Linked DNA regions of Homo sapiens: region 1 is linked to region 2. The links are contacts of gene promoters, found by promoter capture Hi-C in blood cells and fetal thymus (Javierre and others, 2016). All regions are on one chromosome and are shown on one strand. Each heading gives the region's core, a stretch centred on a gene start or on the middle of the fragment in contact. The rest is flanking DNA. Distances are from core to core; before and after follow the strand shown.

The links. Contacts are between HindIII fragments. The CHiCAGO score rates a contact against its expected background, and 5 or more counts as called.
Region 1: a fragment that was not itself captured here is called in contact with the fragment with the promoter of MRPL19 in region 2 in 1 of 17 cell types (total CD4 T cells); the score reaches 8.8 in total CD4 T cells.

Annotation. Positions count from the first base shown.
Region 1 is chr2:84,311,441-84,317,136 of GRCh38, forward strand. The region is part of intron 1 of LOC107985905 (a long non-coding RNA gene); the gene reads right to left. Among named protein-coding and RNA genes, the nearest start is that of SUCLG1, 140 kb to the right of the region's middle. The HindIII fragment of the contact is 3,714 bases long and covers 1,655-5,368 here.
Region 2 is chr2:75,644,512-75,650,080 of GRCh38, forward strand. It overlaps MRPL19 (mitochondrial ribosomal protein L19), which reads left to right and starts at 2,272. Exons shown (of 6, transcript NM_014763.4): 1 at 2,272-2,399; 2 at 2,591-2,708. The coding sequence starts at 2,297. RefSeq lists enhancers at 2,072-2,366, 2,202-2,501. The HindIII fragment of the contact is 2,636 bases long and covers 2,084-4,719 here.

The DNA of each region.
Region 1 (5,696 bases), core at 2,262-4,761, 8.7 Mb after region 2:
TGGAATTAGAAAAATACCATAATTTAACGAAAGTGTCAATGAATACCATAAACTCAGAGTTTACAGGAGCCTTCACATATTCATACACTGCATATTTATTGTCTACTATGTTTTAGATGCTGAGGATACACCTTGAAGTTGACAGACAAGGTCTGGCTTTTAGGAAGTTTCTATTCTATTAAAATACAATTTAATCAGGCACAGTGGCTCACACCTGTAATCCCAACACTTTGGGAGGCCCAGGTGGGAGGATCACTTGAGTTCAGGAGTTTGAGACCAGCCGGGCAATACAGTGAGACCCCATCTCTAAAAATAATAATAAAAATAAAATTTGTAGCATGCCATTGATTTGCACTGGGTTCCTAGCCCAACAGCTCAAACCAATATGTGGTAATTCATGCTAAATGAAACAAATTAATTTAGAAGTATACTCATGTAACAAACAGCTGAACTTCAGTCAATGGTAGGTGGTCAGCTGATTCAAGTAAGACAAAATGCTGAGCTATAACTAAGTTGTTCTTTTTACCTCACTTCCCTTTTCTGTCCATAAATGCTGCTGTCTGATCATGTAGCACACAGAAGCTCTTTGACCCTGTTCTGGTTCTGGGGGCTGCCAGATTCACTTCACTAATCATTTTTGTTGTTGTTTTTTGGGTTTTTTTGCTCATAGAAACTCTGATAAATTTAAACTTGAGATTTTTCCTTTTTAACAATTCTAATGGGGAAGACAAGCAAGGGACAAATGTATAAATGAGATAATATGCATAATACACATCTTTCATTCTCAGGCCTGTCTGCATGGAGCCCTGTAGAGGAGGGGCTCTGCCAGGTGGTGCTCCTGCTCAGTCCCCCCTGCTTCAGAAGAGTCACTTTCCTTTCTAGCAAGGCCGGCGGGTCCTCTGCAGCTCAGTCCATGGGGGTCAGCTGGCATGTGCCACTACTGCTGCTGCTGTGGCCCCCTGTCCTCAGAAGCTTATCTGAGATCTGATGGAGTCTGAGAACCAGCTTGCCTTTGAGGGGCACCCAGAGGTCTTGGTTTCTCTACATCAGAAGGGTCCTTTGCTAATGAGGAGTTCACCTTGAGAGGTCTTTACCTCCCCAAGGCTACTTGGCTTCCATACATTTTTGAAGTATCCAAAAGCCCATCCTGTGAGAGATGATCACTTAAACACATCTTGTTGCTTCATATCTGCAACCTCAGATATCCAAGCCATTAGAGGTGTTCTGGGATTCACCCTAGAAAGAGGATTCCTGAATGTGTCATTTCTGTATGTGTCTGAATAAACAGTCACAAATGATTAGAGCTTACTGGGTATACTAATATATCCCACAGTCTGATTTTAAAGCTACAGATAGGTGTTAATGTAGAGAGACACCATCTATAATCCGATGAATGAATTGAATGAATATATAAGAAAAAATTTGTAATAAGCACATCAGTGTTAGCATACACATGAGAATGTCAAAGGTAGTTCAAACTCCGTTTAAACAATCTGCTCTCCTAAACATTGCCTTGTTCTTAATATCCTTTTGTAACCTCAGTAAAAAAAACAAACAAAAAAATACCACCTATCTCCTATGGATATAAGCACAAATATCAAATGAATAAGCTGAAAATTAATGAGTTTTCTTTTTCTTTAAATGGCTATACAAAAGCTTCAGTCTTCCCTTGTCAAATCATCAGGAATTTCAGGCACATAACTTTCATTCTGATGGGTTCATCTCACAGAATAAAAGACTTGCTTATAAAACAGCATTATTTTCTTCTCTTATTGAAAAATGTGTACACACTTCAAAGTTAAAAACAAAAGTTTCTTAAAGCACAAAGAAGCAACTTAAAATCACTCCAAAATTCTTAGCTAAAATACAAAGATTAATTATATGGAGTCTTTCCTTCCAGTCTTAAATGTTATATTTTTACAGGAATAACAATTTTTGCTAAGAACCTGAACTAGCACACATCAGGACAGAGTTGCATAATTAGTGGCTTGGAAAAAGATAGCAGTCACTCTTTAGCTACCAAATTGGCAAGATCAGAAATGAATGGCACCATAAAGATCTCACGTCTTTCATTAATGCTTAAAGCTGAGACTTTATTTATAAGGAGATTCTAAATTCCAGGCCAGTCTCACCGGGCTGTCCTTGATAGAGGTAGCCTGTTTGTCATGTTAATGAAGAGAAAATTTCCAGTTCTGAGTTCCACAAAGACTGTTCTCCCCCACCTACAGCTAAAGAGGGAGAAAAATGTCAGCAGGTAAGGGGTAGAATTGGAGTGAACCACTTCCTTACCTTTGGGAGCAGCTGGCCTAATGTCAATGTCAAGGGTGGGGCAGTTCCAGCTCCATCAGAGGTGACTGCACCATGACAGGCAATGCTCATAGGCAAATCCACAGCTCAGCACTTGACAGGCTGGAATATTATCTATCCCAGTGCTTCTCAAACTGGAGCAGCATCAGAATCCTGGCAGAGGGCTTTTAAAGCACAGATTGGGGCCAGGAAGGGTGGTTCACATCTGTAATTCCAGCACTTTCGAAGGCCGAGGTGGATCACTTCAAGCCAGGAGTTGGGAACCAGCCTGGGCAACATAGCAAGACCCTGCCTGTACTAAAATATATATTTAAAATTAAAACACACACACACGCACACACACACACTCACACAGATTGCTGAGCCCCACCCCAGGGTTTCTGATTCAGTAGGTTTGAGAATTTGCATTTTTTTATTATTATTATATATTTTTTTAAAAGATGGAGTCTCACTCTATTGCCCAGGCTGGAGTGCAGTGGCAGAATCTCAGCTCACGACAACCTCTGCCTTCTGGGTTCAAGCAATTCTCCTGCTTCAGCCTCCCATGTAGCTGATACTACAGGCATGTGCCACCATGCCCAGCTAATTTTTGTGTTTTTAGTAGAGACGGGGTTTCACCATATTGGCCAGGCCTGTCTCAAACTCCTGACCTCAAGTCATTTGCCCACCTCGGCCTCCCAAAATGCTGGAATCACAAGTGTGAGTCACTGCGCCTGGCCAAGAATGTGCACTATAACAAGTCACCAGGTGATGCGAATCCCAGGGGGTTCCAGGACCACGCTTTGAGAACCACTAGTCTATCCTGATGTTTGCACTGTTTAACATAGAAGTTCAAAACCCGGGCTTTACAGTCTGTCAGACCTGGTTTTTATTCCTAATTCCATCAATTAATAGCTATGTGAACTTGGGCCAGTAACTCAATTAATCTGAGCCTCTATTTTCTCACAAGTAGAATAGGAATAATTGCAGGGTTGTTCTAAGAAATGGATCATGTAATGTGTAAGTGCTTACACTTATGAAGCATTGCCAGCTTCATAATAAACATTTAATACATGATTATTAGTCTTTCTATTCAAGCCCTACCTCAACACCCTCCTGGAATCTTTCTGCACCTGTTCCTATTGATCTCTTAGTCCTCTAAAATGTTGGTTCACTTGCTTTCCAACCCGCTCTGTGGTAAGGAAACTCCATTTCCCCACCCCCATAGAGCCTCCCGACTCCACTAGCAAGTGGGTAATCCTCTGCTGCCACCTTGTGGCCTTCCTTCGCCTCACGCATTGCAGGCTAACCTTGTCAAGGTGGCGTTTCTGGGACTGCAATCCAGTAGCTGAGCATAAGCAAAGGAGCCAGACGTGGTGCCCGCTCAGTCTGCTCAGTCGATGTGAGGACTGTGAGGAAGGGTTCCCAACAGGACAGTCCGAAGGACACCCAAATCCTGAGGGCTACAGAATAACAGAAAGGAGCTGGAATCAGCACCAGGAGAGCAGGAGAGCGACCTGGCTGTGATCTCAGGTGAGTCTAGAGGCCCCGCTGAGCTCACTCAAGGCCTGGCCAGTGCCCTTCTATGCAGGACCCCAGGACACCTGCCTGTAGACATTTCTGAGGATTCCAGGGATCTCGAGCATATCCCTTCAGATCCCTCTTGCTACTGAGGTGGCCAAAGTCATGTGTGTCTAGGACAAGGCTATTAGAGGGTCCCCAGTAGTCCCATGTTGAGACCATAGTCCCAACTCCGAATGAAGACTGTTCATTGTAGCTGGTTTGGAATAGAAACCCAGTACTTCGGTGAAGAAAGCAGCAGGACAGAGCGATGTGAGCAATGAAATGAAGACTCAAGTTGCTCTTGTCTTTTATTCCCATTACTCCTTTTCCCTGGTACAAGTGTCTTAATGAGGGGGGTTGACAGCTCGATGGTGGGGGGTGGGTACAAATACAAACGGTATTTTTTTTTTTCAGGGATAGTAGGAAACACCTCTTTCCAGGAGCACATCACACCTGAGGTTCACGGTAGTGATAACTCTCTCCCCTCCTTGTGTTCTCATCCCTTAGAGCAATGAACAATGAACCAGAAGGTAGGGTGGAGAGTGAGGATGACACCTGGGATGGCAGCCACAGACCAGGAAGGCTGAGCTGGGAAATTGGTGCATTTTTTGGCTTCTCTCTTTAGAACATGGGTTATTTGGGGCCTTTTCATCCTCATTTTTGGGCCCCCAGGCACCAATTCTGAGAAACAGGAAAAGTTGCACTCAGCATCTCCTCCCTAGACCATGCAATCCGGCACACACTCAGACCCCTGAAAGAAATAAAAAGCAAAGCATTCCGATCCTTCTCCAGGGGATGGCATTTGTTCTCCTTCTGCAGAGGCTCATTTTAGATTTGCCTCAATGTAATATGCATAAGAAGTTAAGTCACCAGGGGCACCCCTTCCCCTCTCTAGAAGAAAGCTAAGACAAGGAAGGGGTTAAACAAAGGAGTAGGGCAAAACAGACACAGGCAGAGGAATGTAAGTTCTGCTGGTGAATCTGGGAGTAGGGGGGGTTATCTACCAACAATTTTCTACCCCTTAACCAGACATAAGCCTTGAAAATTGACTTCTTTAAGGCATTTAATCATGCTATCTCACTTATTATAAAGCATGCAACAGTTTGACCAAGGTCTTTTTTACATTCATTAATTCACATGGGTTTTAAATCTTGCAACAATTCTCTTGCATTGGTAGAGCAAACATCACTTATTCACTGATAAGAAAAATGGAAGCTCCAAGATACTAAATGGCTTGTCCAAAATCACAGAGCATTAGTCTCTCTCCGAGGGCAAAGTATTTATATCCAAAACTATAAACTTATACAGCATCTAGCTAGTTAACCAGCTTCAAGCACTTCAAGCAAGGCCTTGAAGGAATAAGGAATAGGGAGTGTGTGAACATTGTGCATATAAGTTTGGGTGAAGGAAGCAAAGTTGCAGAATCAAGACTGATGTGCAGGAGAGTGGCTTGATTTGCTAGCAGTGGGCAGTCAGAAAGGAATATGACTCCTGGGTGCTGGGACAGAAGGTGAGTGGAAGCTTTGTAGATTATCAACCAACAGAAGGCAAACTCTTCATTTACCTTATTTTACTTTTCCTCCTCATATAGATCCAAGTATGCCCAGTTGCACCATGGGAAAAATCTCTTCTCAAAGCCAAAACTATCTGAGGTGGGGGAAAAGATCCTAAAATACTTTTAACCATTTTTGTGTGGTTCTAACTTGTCTAAGCAGCAAAGAAACTTTCCTTTGTTAACTCGGGGGCGTCAAAGCCAGCTTTGTTTTCATGCCTAGTATTGATTTGGATCCTCCGGGGGGGGTCTCTTGACATCTCTCCACACCTTGCCTGATGAAGCCAGCAAGTCC
Region 2 (5,569 bases), core at 1,022-3,521:
GAGGAGAGGGCAGCAGGAGTGGCTTGGCAATGTCTAGTAAATCCTGCTGTCCTCCTGTGAAGGTCTGTCTTTTATTTCTCTGCCCCTACCTTTAGGACCAATCCCAGCAAGAGTGAAGGCCACGTGTTCTGGGCATGGTTAATACAGAAAAATCTTCACCACTGCCAGTCATGATTATCTTTGCCTCTCCTCCCTTTTACTCTTAAGGGCTTGAAGTCTACTTTTTCGGGTAGGTAGAAGAGCCAAAATATTGCTCATCTGAAATTTTGGTTGTGAGATTCCTTGTCATTTATAGAATAAATTCTTGTTCTAATCAAAGAAGCTAGAGTTAAAATAGAAGGCCCTGTCTTTCTTCACAGCATCTTGAATTCTGTGCTCAAAACATGGCCCTGTTCCTCAGGCTGATGTAACAGCTCATGTTCTTCAGGATGGCAAGTCAGAGTATAGAGGCCAAGCTGCAGAGGTTGGTTGCTTTTATGAGCATTTGACTTCTGTCAAAAGTAAACAGTAAGGCTTTAAACTGGGGAAAGGAAAGAACAGGGTATGCATTTCTGAGCCATCTTTTTTTGGTTGCTGCGTGAAGGACTGGAGGTAACCAGAGGCAAGAAGACTAATGAGAAGGCTGTTGCAGGGATCTCCAGGGATCCTGAAGAGAGAAAATATGTTGACCTAGATTGGAAATATGGATGGGAGGATGAGAAAGTATATGGATTCCTGAGATATTTGACGGTGTCAGGCATAGTTTTTGGAACTTCATCCAGGAGGAGACAGGGAGGAATCAAGAATGGCACTGAGATTTTTGGCTTAGGCAAGAGAGTGGATGCTGAAGCCATTCCTTGAGATAGCCAATACTGGGAAGGAAGTCTGGAGCTGAAAAAGATGAACTCAGTATGGATAGGCTGAATTTGAGGTAGCTTTGGGACATTAATGCAACTGGAATGACTATTATGTAGTTAAATTATCACATTACTCTAAGTGTTCAATCCTTATATAACCACTGCTGAAATAACAAATTCCAAATTTCTTTTTTTGTGTGTGTTTCTTTTTCTGTTTTTTTGAGACGGAGTTTCGCTCTTGTTGCAATGGCGCGATCTCGGCTCACTGCAACCTCTGTCTCCCAGGTTCAAGCGATTCTCCTGCCTTAGCCTCCCAAGTAGCTGGGATTACAGGAGCCTGCCACCACACCTGGATCATTTTTTTTATTTTTGGTAGAAACGGGGTTTCACTATGTTGGCCAGGCTAGTCTCAAACTCCTGACCTCAGGCGATCTGCCCGCCTCGGCCTCCCAAAATGCTGGGGTTAAAGGCGTGAGCCACTGCGCCCGGCTGTGTGTTTGTTTCTTAGAGATACGGTCTCACTATATTGCCCAGGCTGGTTTCCAACTCATGAGCTCAAGGGACCCTCCTGTCTCGGCCTCCCACAGTGCTGGGATTACAGGCATGCCTGGCCACGCCCAGTCATTTTCCAAATTTCTTAACAAGACTTACAATTTACCTTTTCCAGCTTTACTTCTCCCACCTATCCATACCCACAGTTGCCCAGCCCAAATTCATTTGGGTTCCTCAAAGGGTTAATGCTTTGTGTAGTCTCAAGGACTATGGGCCAGCAGTTCTGTCAGGAACTATTCTATTCTCTTTTCTGTGCATTCAGCAAAGAATTAGAAAAATTAGCTGGGCGTGATGGTGCGAGACTGTAGTCTTGGCTACTCGGGAGGCTGAGGTGAGAGGATCTCCTGACATCAGGAGTTGGAGGCTGCAGAGCCATGATCGCGCCACTGCACTCCAGCCTGGGTAACAGAGGAAGACCTTGTCTCAACAAAACAAAAGATGTTAGTGAGGGCCCAGGTAGGTGCTAGGTGCTGGGATAACATGGTGAGCAAAAAGAAGACTTTATCCCTTCCCTTGCCTCATTATAGTATAATGGCAGATTTAAATACTAATCTAATAATTACACAAGAAAGAATTGCAAATGAGATCAGAGCTGCCAATCGAAGGCACCCAGTGGGAAAGACGGCCTACAATGGGATTTTCGCATAGCGAAAGCTTGTCTGAGAAGATAGAGTGGATTCATAGGGGGAGGAAAAAGCTTTCTAGGCTGGGAGAACACCCCTGTGGAGGGGTGTAACTTGGCGCATTACGAGGAACTAGAGAAACGTGCACTTTTCCTAAGACATCAGGAAAGGAGCGAGGAGAGACTTATCCATTTTGTCCCATAGCAGCCGCCATATGGTGGCAGACAGCAACAACCTCGTCGCACTGATTACTGGGAGCTGTAGTCTTGACGTGAGCTAGCTGGCATGGCGGCCTGCATTGCAGCGGGGCACTGGGCTGCAATGGGCCTAGGCCGGAGTTTCCAAGCCGCCAGGACTCTGCTCCCCCCGCCGGCCTCTATCGCCTGCAGTAAGTGGAGCCGGACTTGCGAGCTGGGGCGCGTTAGGGGCCCAGGGTCAGGATGGGGGAGGCGAACCTGGAGATCAGAGGCAACCCCAGCGTTGGTCCCCCGTGGGACGCCGGGTTGGGGGAGATTGCGGGGCTCTGCGGGATCTCAGGGTTGGCACGAGAGTTCTGACCTCCGTCGTCCGCTCCCGCAGGGGTCCACGCGGGGCCTGTCCGGCAGCAGAGCACTGGGCCTTCCGAGCCCGGTGCGTTCCAACCGCCGCCGAAACCGGTCATCGTGGACAAGCACCGCCCCGTGGAACCGGAACGCAGGTGAGGCACTGCCCTGGCGCTAGGCCGGCAACTGGGGTCGGTGCGCGCGTGAGCGCGTTCGCGTTCGAGGTCCCGGCTCTAAGGTGGGGGCTGCACCTCCCCCTGCACGAGCAGGTGTGTAGGATTCAAGAGCCAGCGCACCACACTGTTCTTTCTTTCTCACTTCTCCCCAAGCCAGCATTGAACTTCTTTGCAGTTTTATTGAGTCAGAACTTCAAGTAGGGGTTCCCCATATTTTAAACTCTTTTCTCTGTGGTATTTGTCCTGTACCAGAGTTTTTCTCTGAGGTATATCCTGTTTATACCTGTTTACGTCCAAGAGCTCTTCTTTTCTCTCAAAAGACCCTTAACCCTGGATAGGAATCGATTGGCCAACTTAAAAAATTTGCTATGGTTTAGGTTGGAAGTTTTGGCAGACAAAGCACAGTAAAACTGGCCACTAAATTGTGTCTGAAACTTACTCATCAAAATAGTGTGAATAAAAACTTATATGAATGGTGGTAATCTTGGAGGTACATGTAAATTTAAAGGACTTAAGGTCTGAAAAGAGAGCTATGTAGCAACCTTTTTAAAAAGCCAGTTTTCAGAGGAAAAACCTGATATGATTATAGGCTTTTTGAAAGGGCTGTAGATTATTGATTGGATTACTTCTGGGATTTTTAATTTTTTTATTTTTTAAATTTTTTTTAGACAGAGTCTCTCTCAGTCTCCCAGGCTGGAGTGCAGTGGTGATTTTAGCTCACTGCAGCCTCAAATTTCTGGGCTCAAGTGATCCTCCCGCCTCAGGCTCCAGAGTAGCTGGAACTACTGGTACCACGCCTGGCTTTTTTTTTTCTTTTCTTTTTTTAACATTTAAAATATTCCACGGATTTAAATAGAAGTAAACTTGGAGTTAGAGAACTAAGAGATTCAGAAAATATTTCTTCATAAAACTTTGCTTTTGAGGGTAGAAATGGAATATCTCTTTTAAACAGTGGCATTTAATAGAATTCACTTAAATAGGAATGTAAATTATATGCTCTAGAGAACAATTTGACAGAATTTACTAAGTTTAAGTTGTGTATACCTTCTCACTCAGAAAGCACACAACTTAAACTCCTAACGTGTATGTACAAGGAGACAAGCACGAGAATGAATGTAACAGTATTTTTTGTAACAAAATTTAGAGGCAGCCTAGATATCCATCAGTAGGTGAACAGGCAAATACATTCATATGACAGAATATTGTATAGCAGTGAAAAATGAGTGAATTAGAGCTCACTTTTAAACATGGAAGATTTTCACAAATCTGTGTGTAAAAAAAACCTTTAGAATCATTAATGTAGTAGGATGCTATTTTTATGAAGTTTTAAAACTATAGGCCGGGTGCGGTGGCTCACGACTGTTATCCCAGCACTTTGGGAGGCCGAGGAGGGCAGATCACGAAGTCAGGAGTTCGAGACCAGCCTGGCCAACATGGCGAAACCCCCATTTCTACTAAAAGTACAAAAAAAAAAAAAAATTAGCCAGGTGTGGTGGCATGTGCCTATAATCCCAGTTACTCGAGAGGCTGAGGCAGAAGAATTGCTTGAACACAGGATGCCGAGGTTGCAGTGAGCCGAGATCGTGCCACTGCACTCCAGCCTGGGCGATAGAGCAAGACTCTGTCTCAGAAAAAAACAAAAACAAAATTATACGAAACAATATATGTTGCCCAGACATACATGCATATGAAAAGTAAAAAGAAATGTAAGGGGGGCCTTCTGAAACTTTGCCAAACAGTCAAACCTAACTTTACCAGTATTGGTACCAGTTGATATTATGTGTCTCCTGATGTGACAGAATAAGTTGTTCACATCATCTCCCTGTAATATTCTTACTAAAATTATTTAACCTTAGTCTAGGCATGTGGAAACAATCCAGAATCCAGAGATGAGATAGTAGGCCTTGACTGTTCAAAAAAGTTAATGTTATAAAAATACAAAGTTGGAAAAAAGTCCTAGTCTGAGAGACTAATGACCAAATATGTGTGAAGCTTGATTGTATTTTGAATTGGGCAACGAATAGATGTAAAATACCTTCCCAGGATAATGACATACATTTGAGTATGAACTCTGTATTAGACCAAGCTTGTCCAACCCACAGCCCAGGACAGCTTTAAATGTGGCCCAACACAAATCTGTAAACTTTCTTAAAACATATGAGATTTTTTTTGTGCCTTTTTTTTTTAAGCTTACCAGCTATTGTTGGTGTCTTTTATGTGTGGCTCAAGATAATTCCTCCAGTGTGTCCCAGGGAAGCCAGATGATTGGATACCTTTGTATTAGATTATGTTATCAAATTAATGCTGACTTTTATAGGTGTCAGAAGGGTATCGTGATAATATAGGAGCAAGTCCTTATTCTTAGCATAAGCCTTCTAAATTATTGAGGGATGAAATGCCTTGCTGTTCCATTTTTTTGAGACAGAGCCTTGCTTTGTCATCCAGGCTGGAGTGCAGTGGCATGATCTTGGCTCTGCAACTCCTACTCCTGGGCCCCTCCCTACTCAGTCTCCCAAGTGGCTGGGACTACAGGTGCCCGCCACCATGCCTGGCTATTTTAAAAATTTTTTTGTTGTAGAATGAGGTCTCACTATGTTGCCTAGGCTGGTCTGGAACTCCTGGGCTCAAACGATCTACCCTCCTCGGCCTCCCAAGTGTTGGGATAACAGACGTAAGCTACCACACCTGGCTGACATTTTCAAATGGTTCAGAAAAAAATGATATGTGTATATAAAGCAAATATAGCAAAATTTTAGCAGTTGGTAAAAGTGGATGAAAGATCTACAGGTGTTCATTGTATTACTATTTTTTGGTAGGCTTTAAAATTTTCAAAGTAGAAA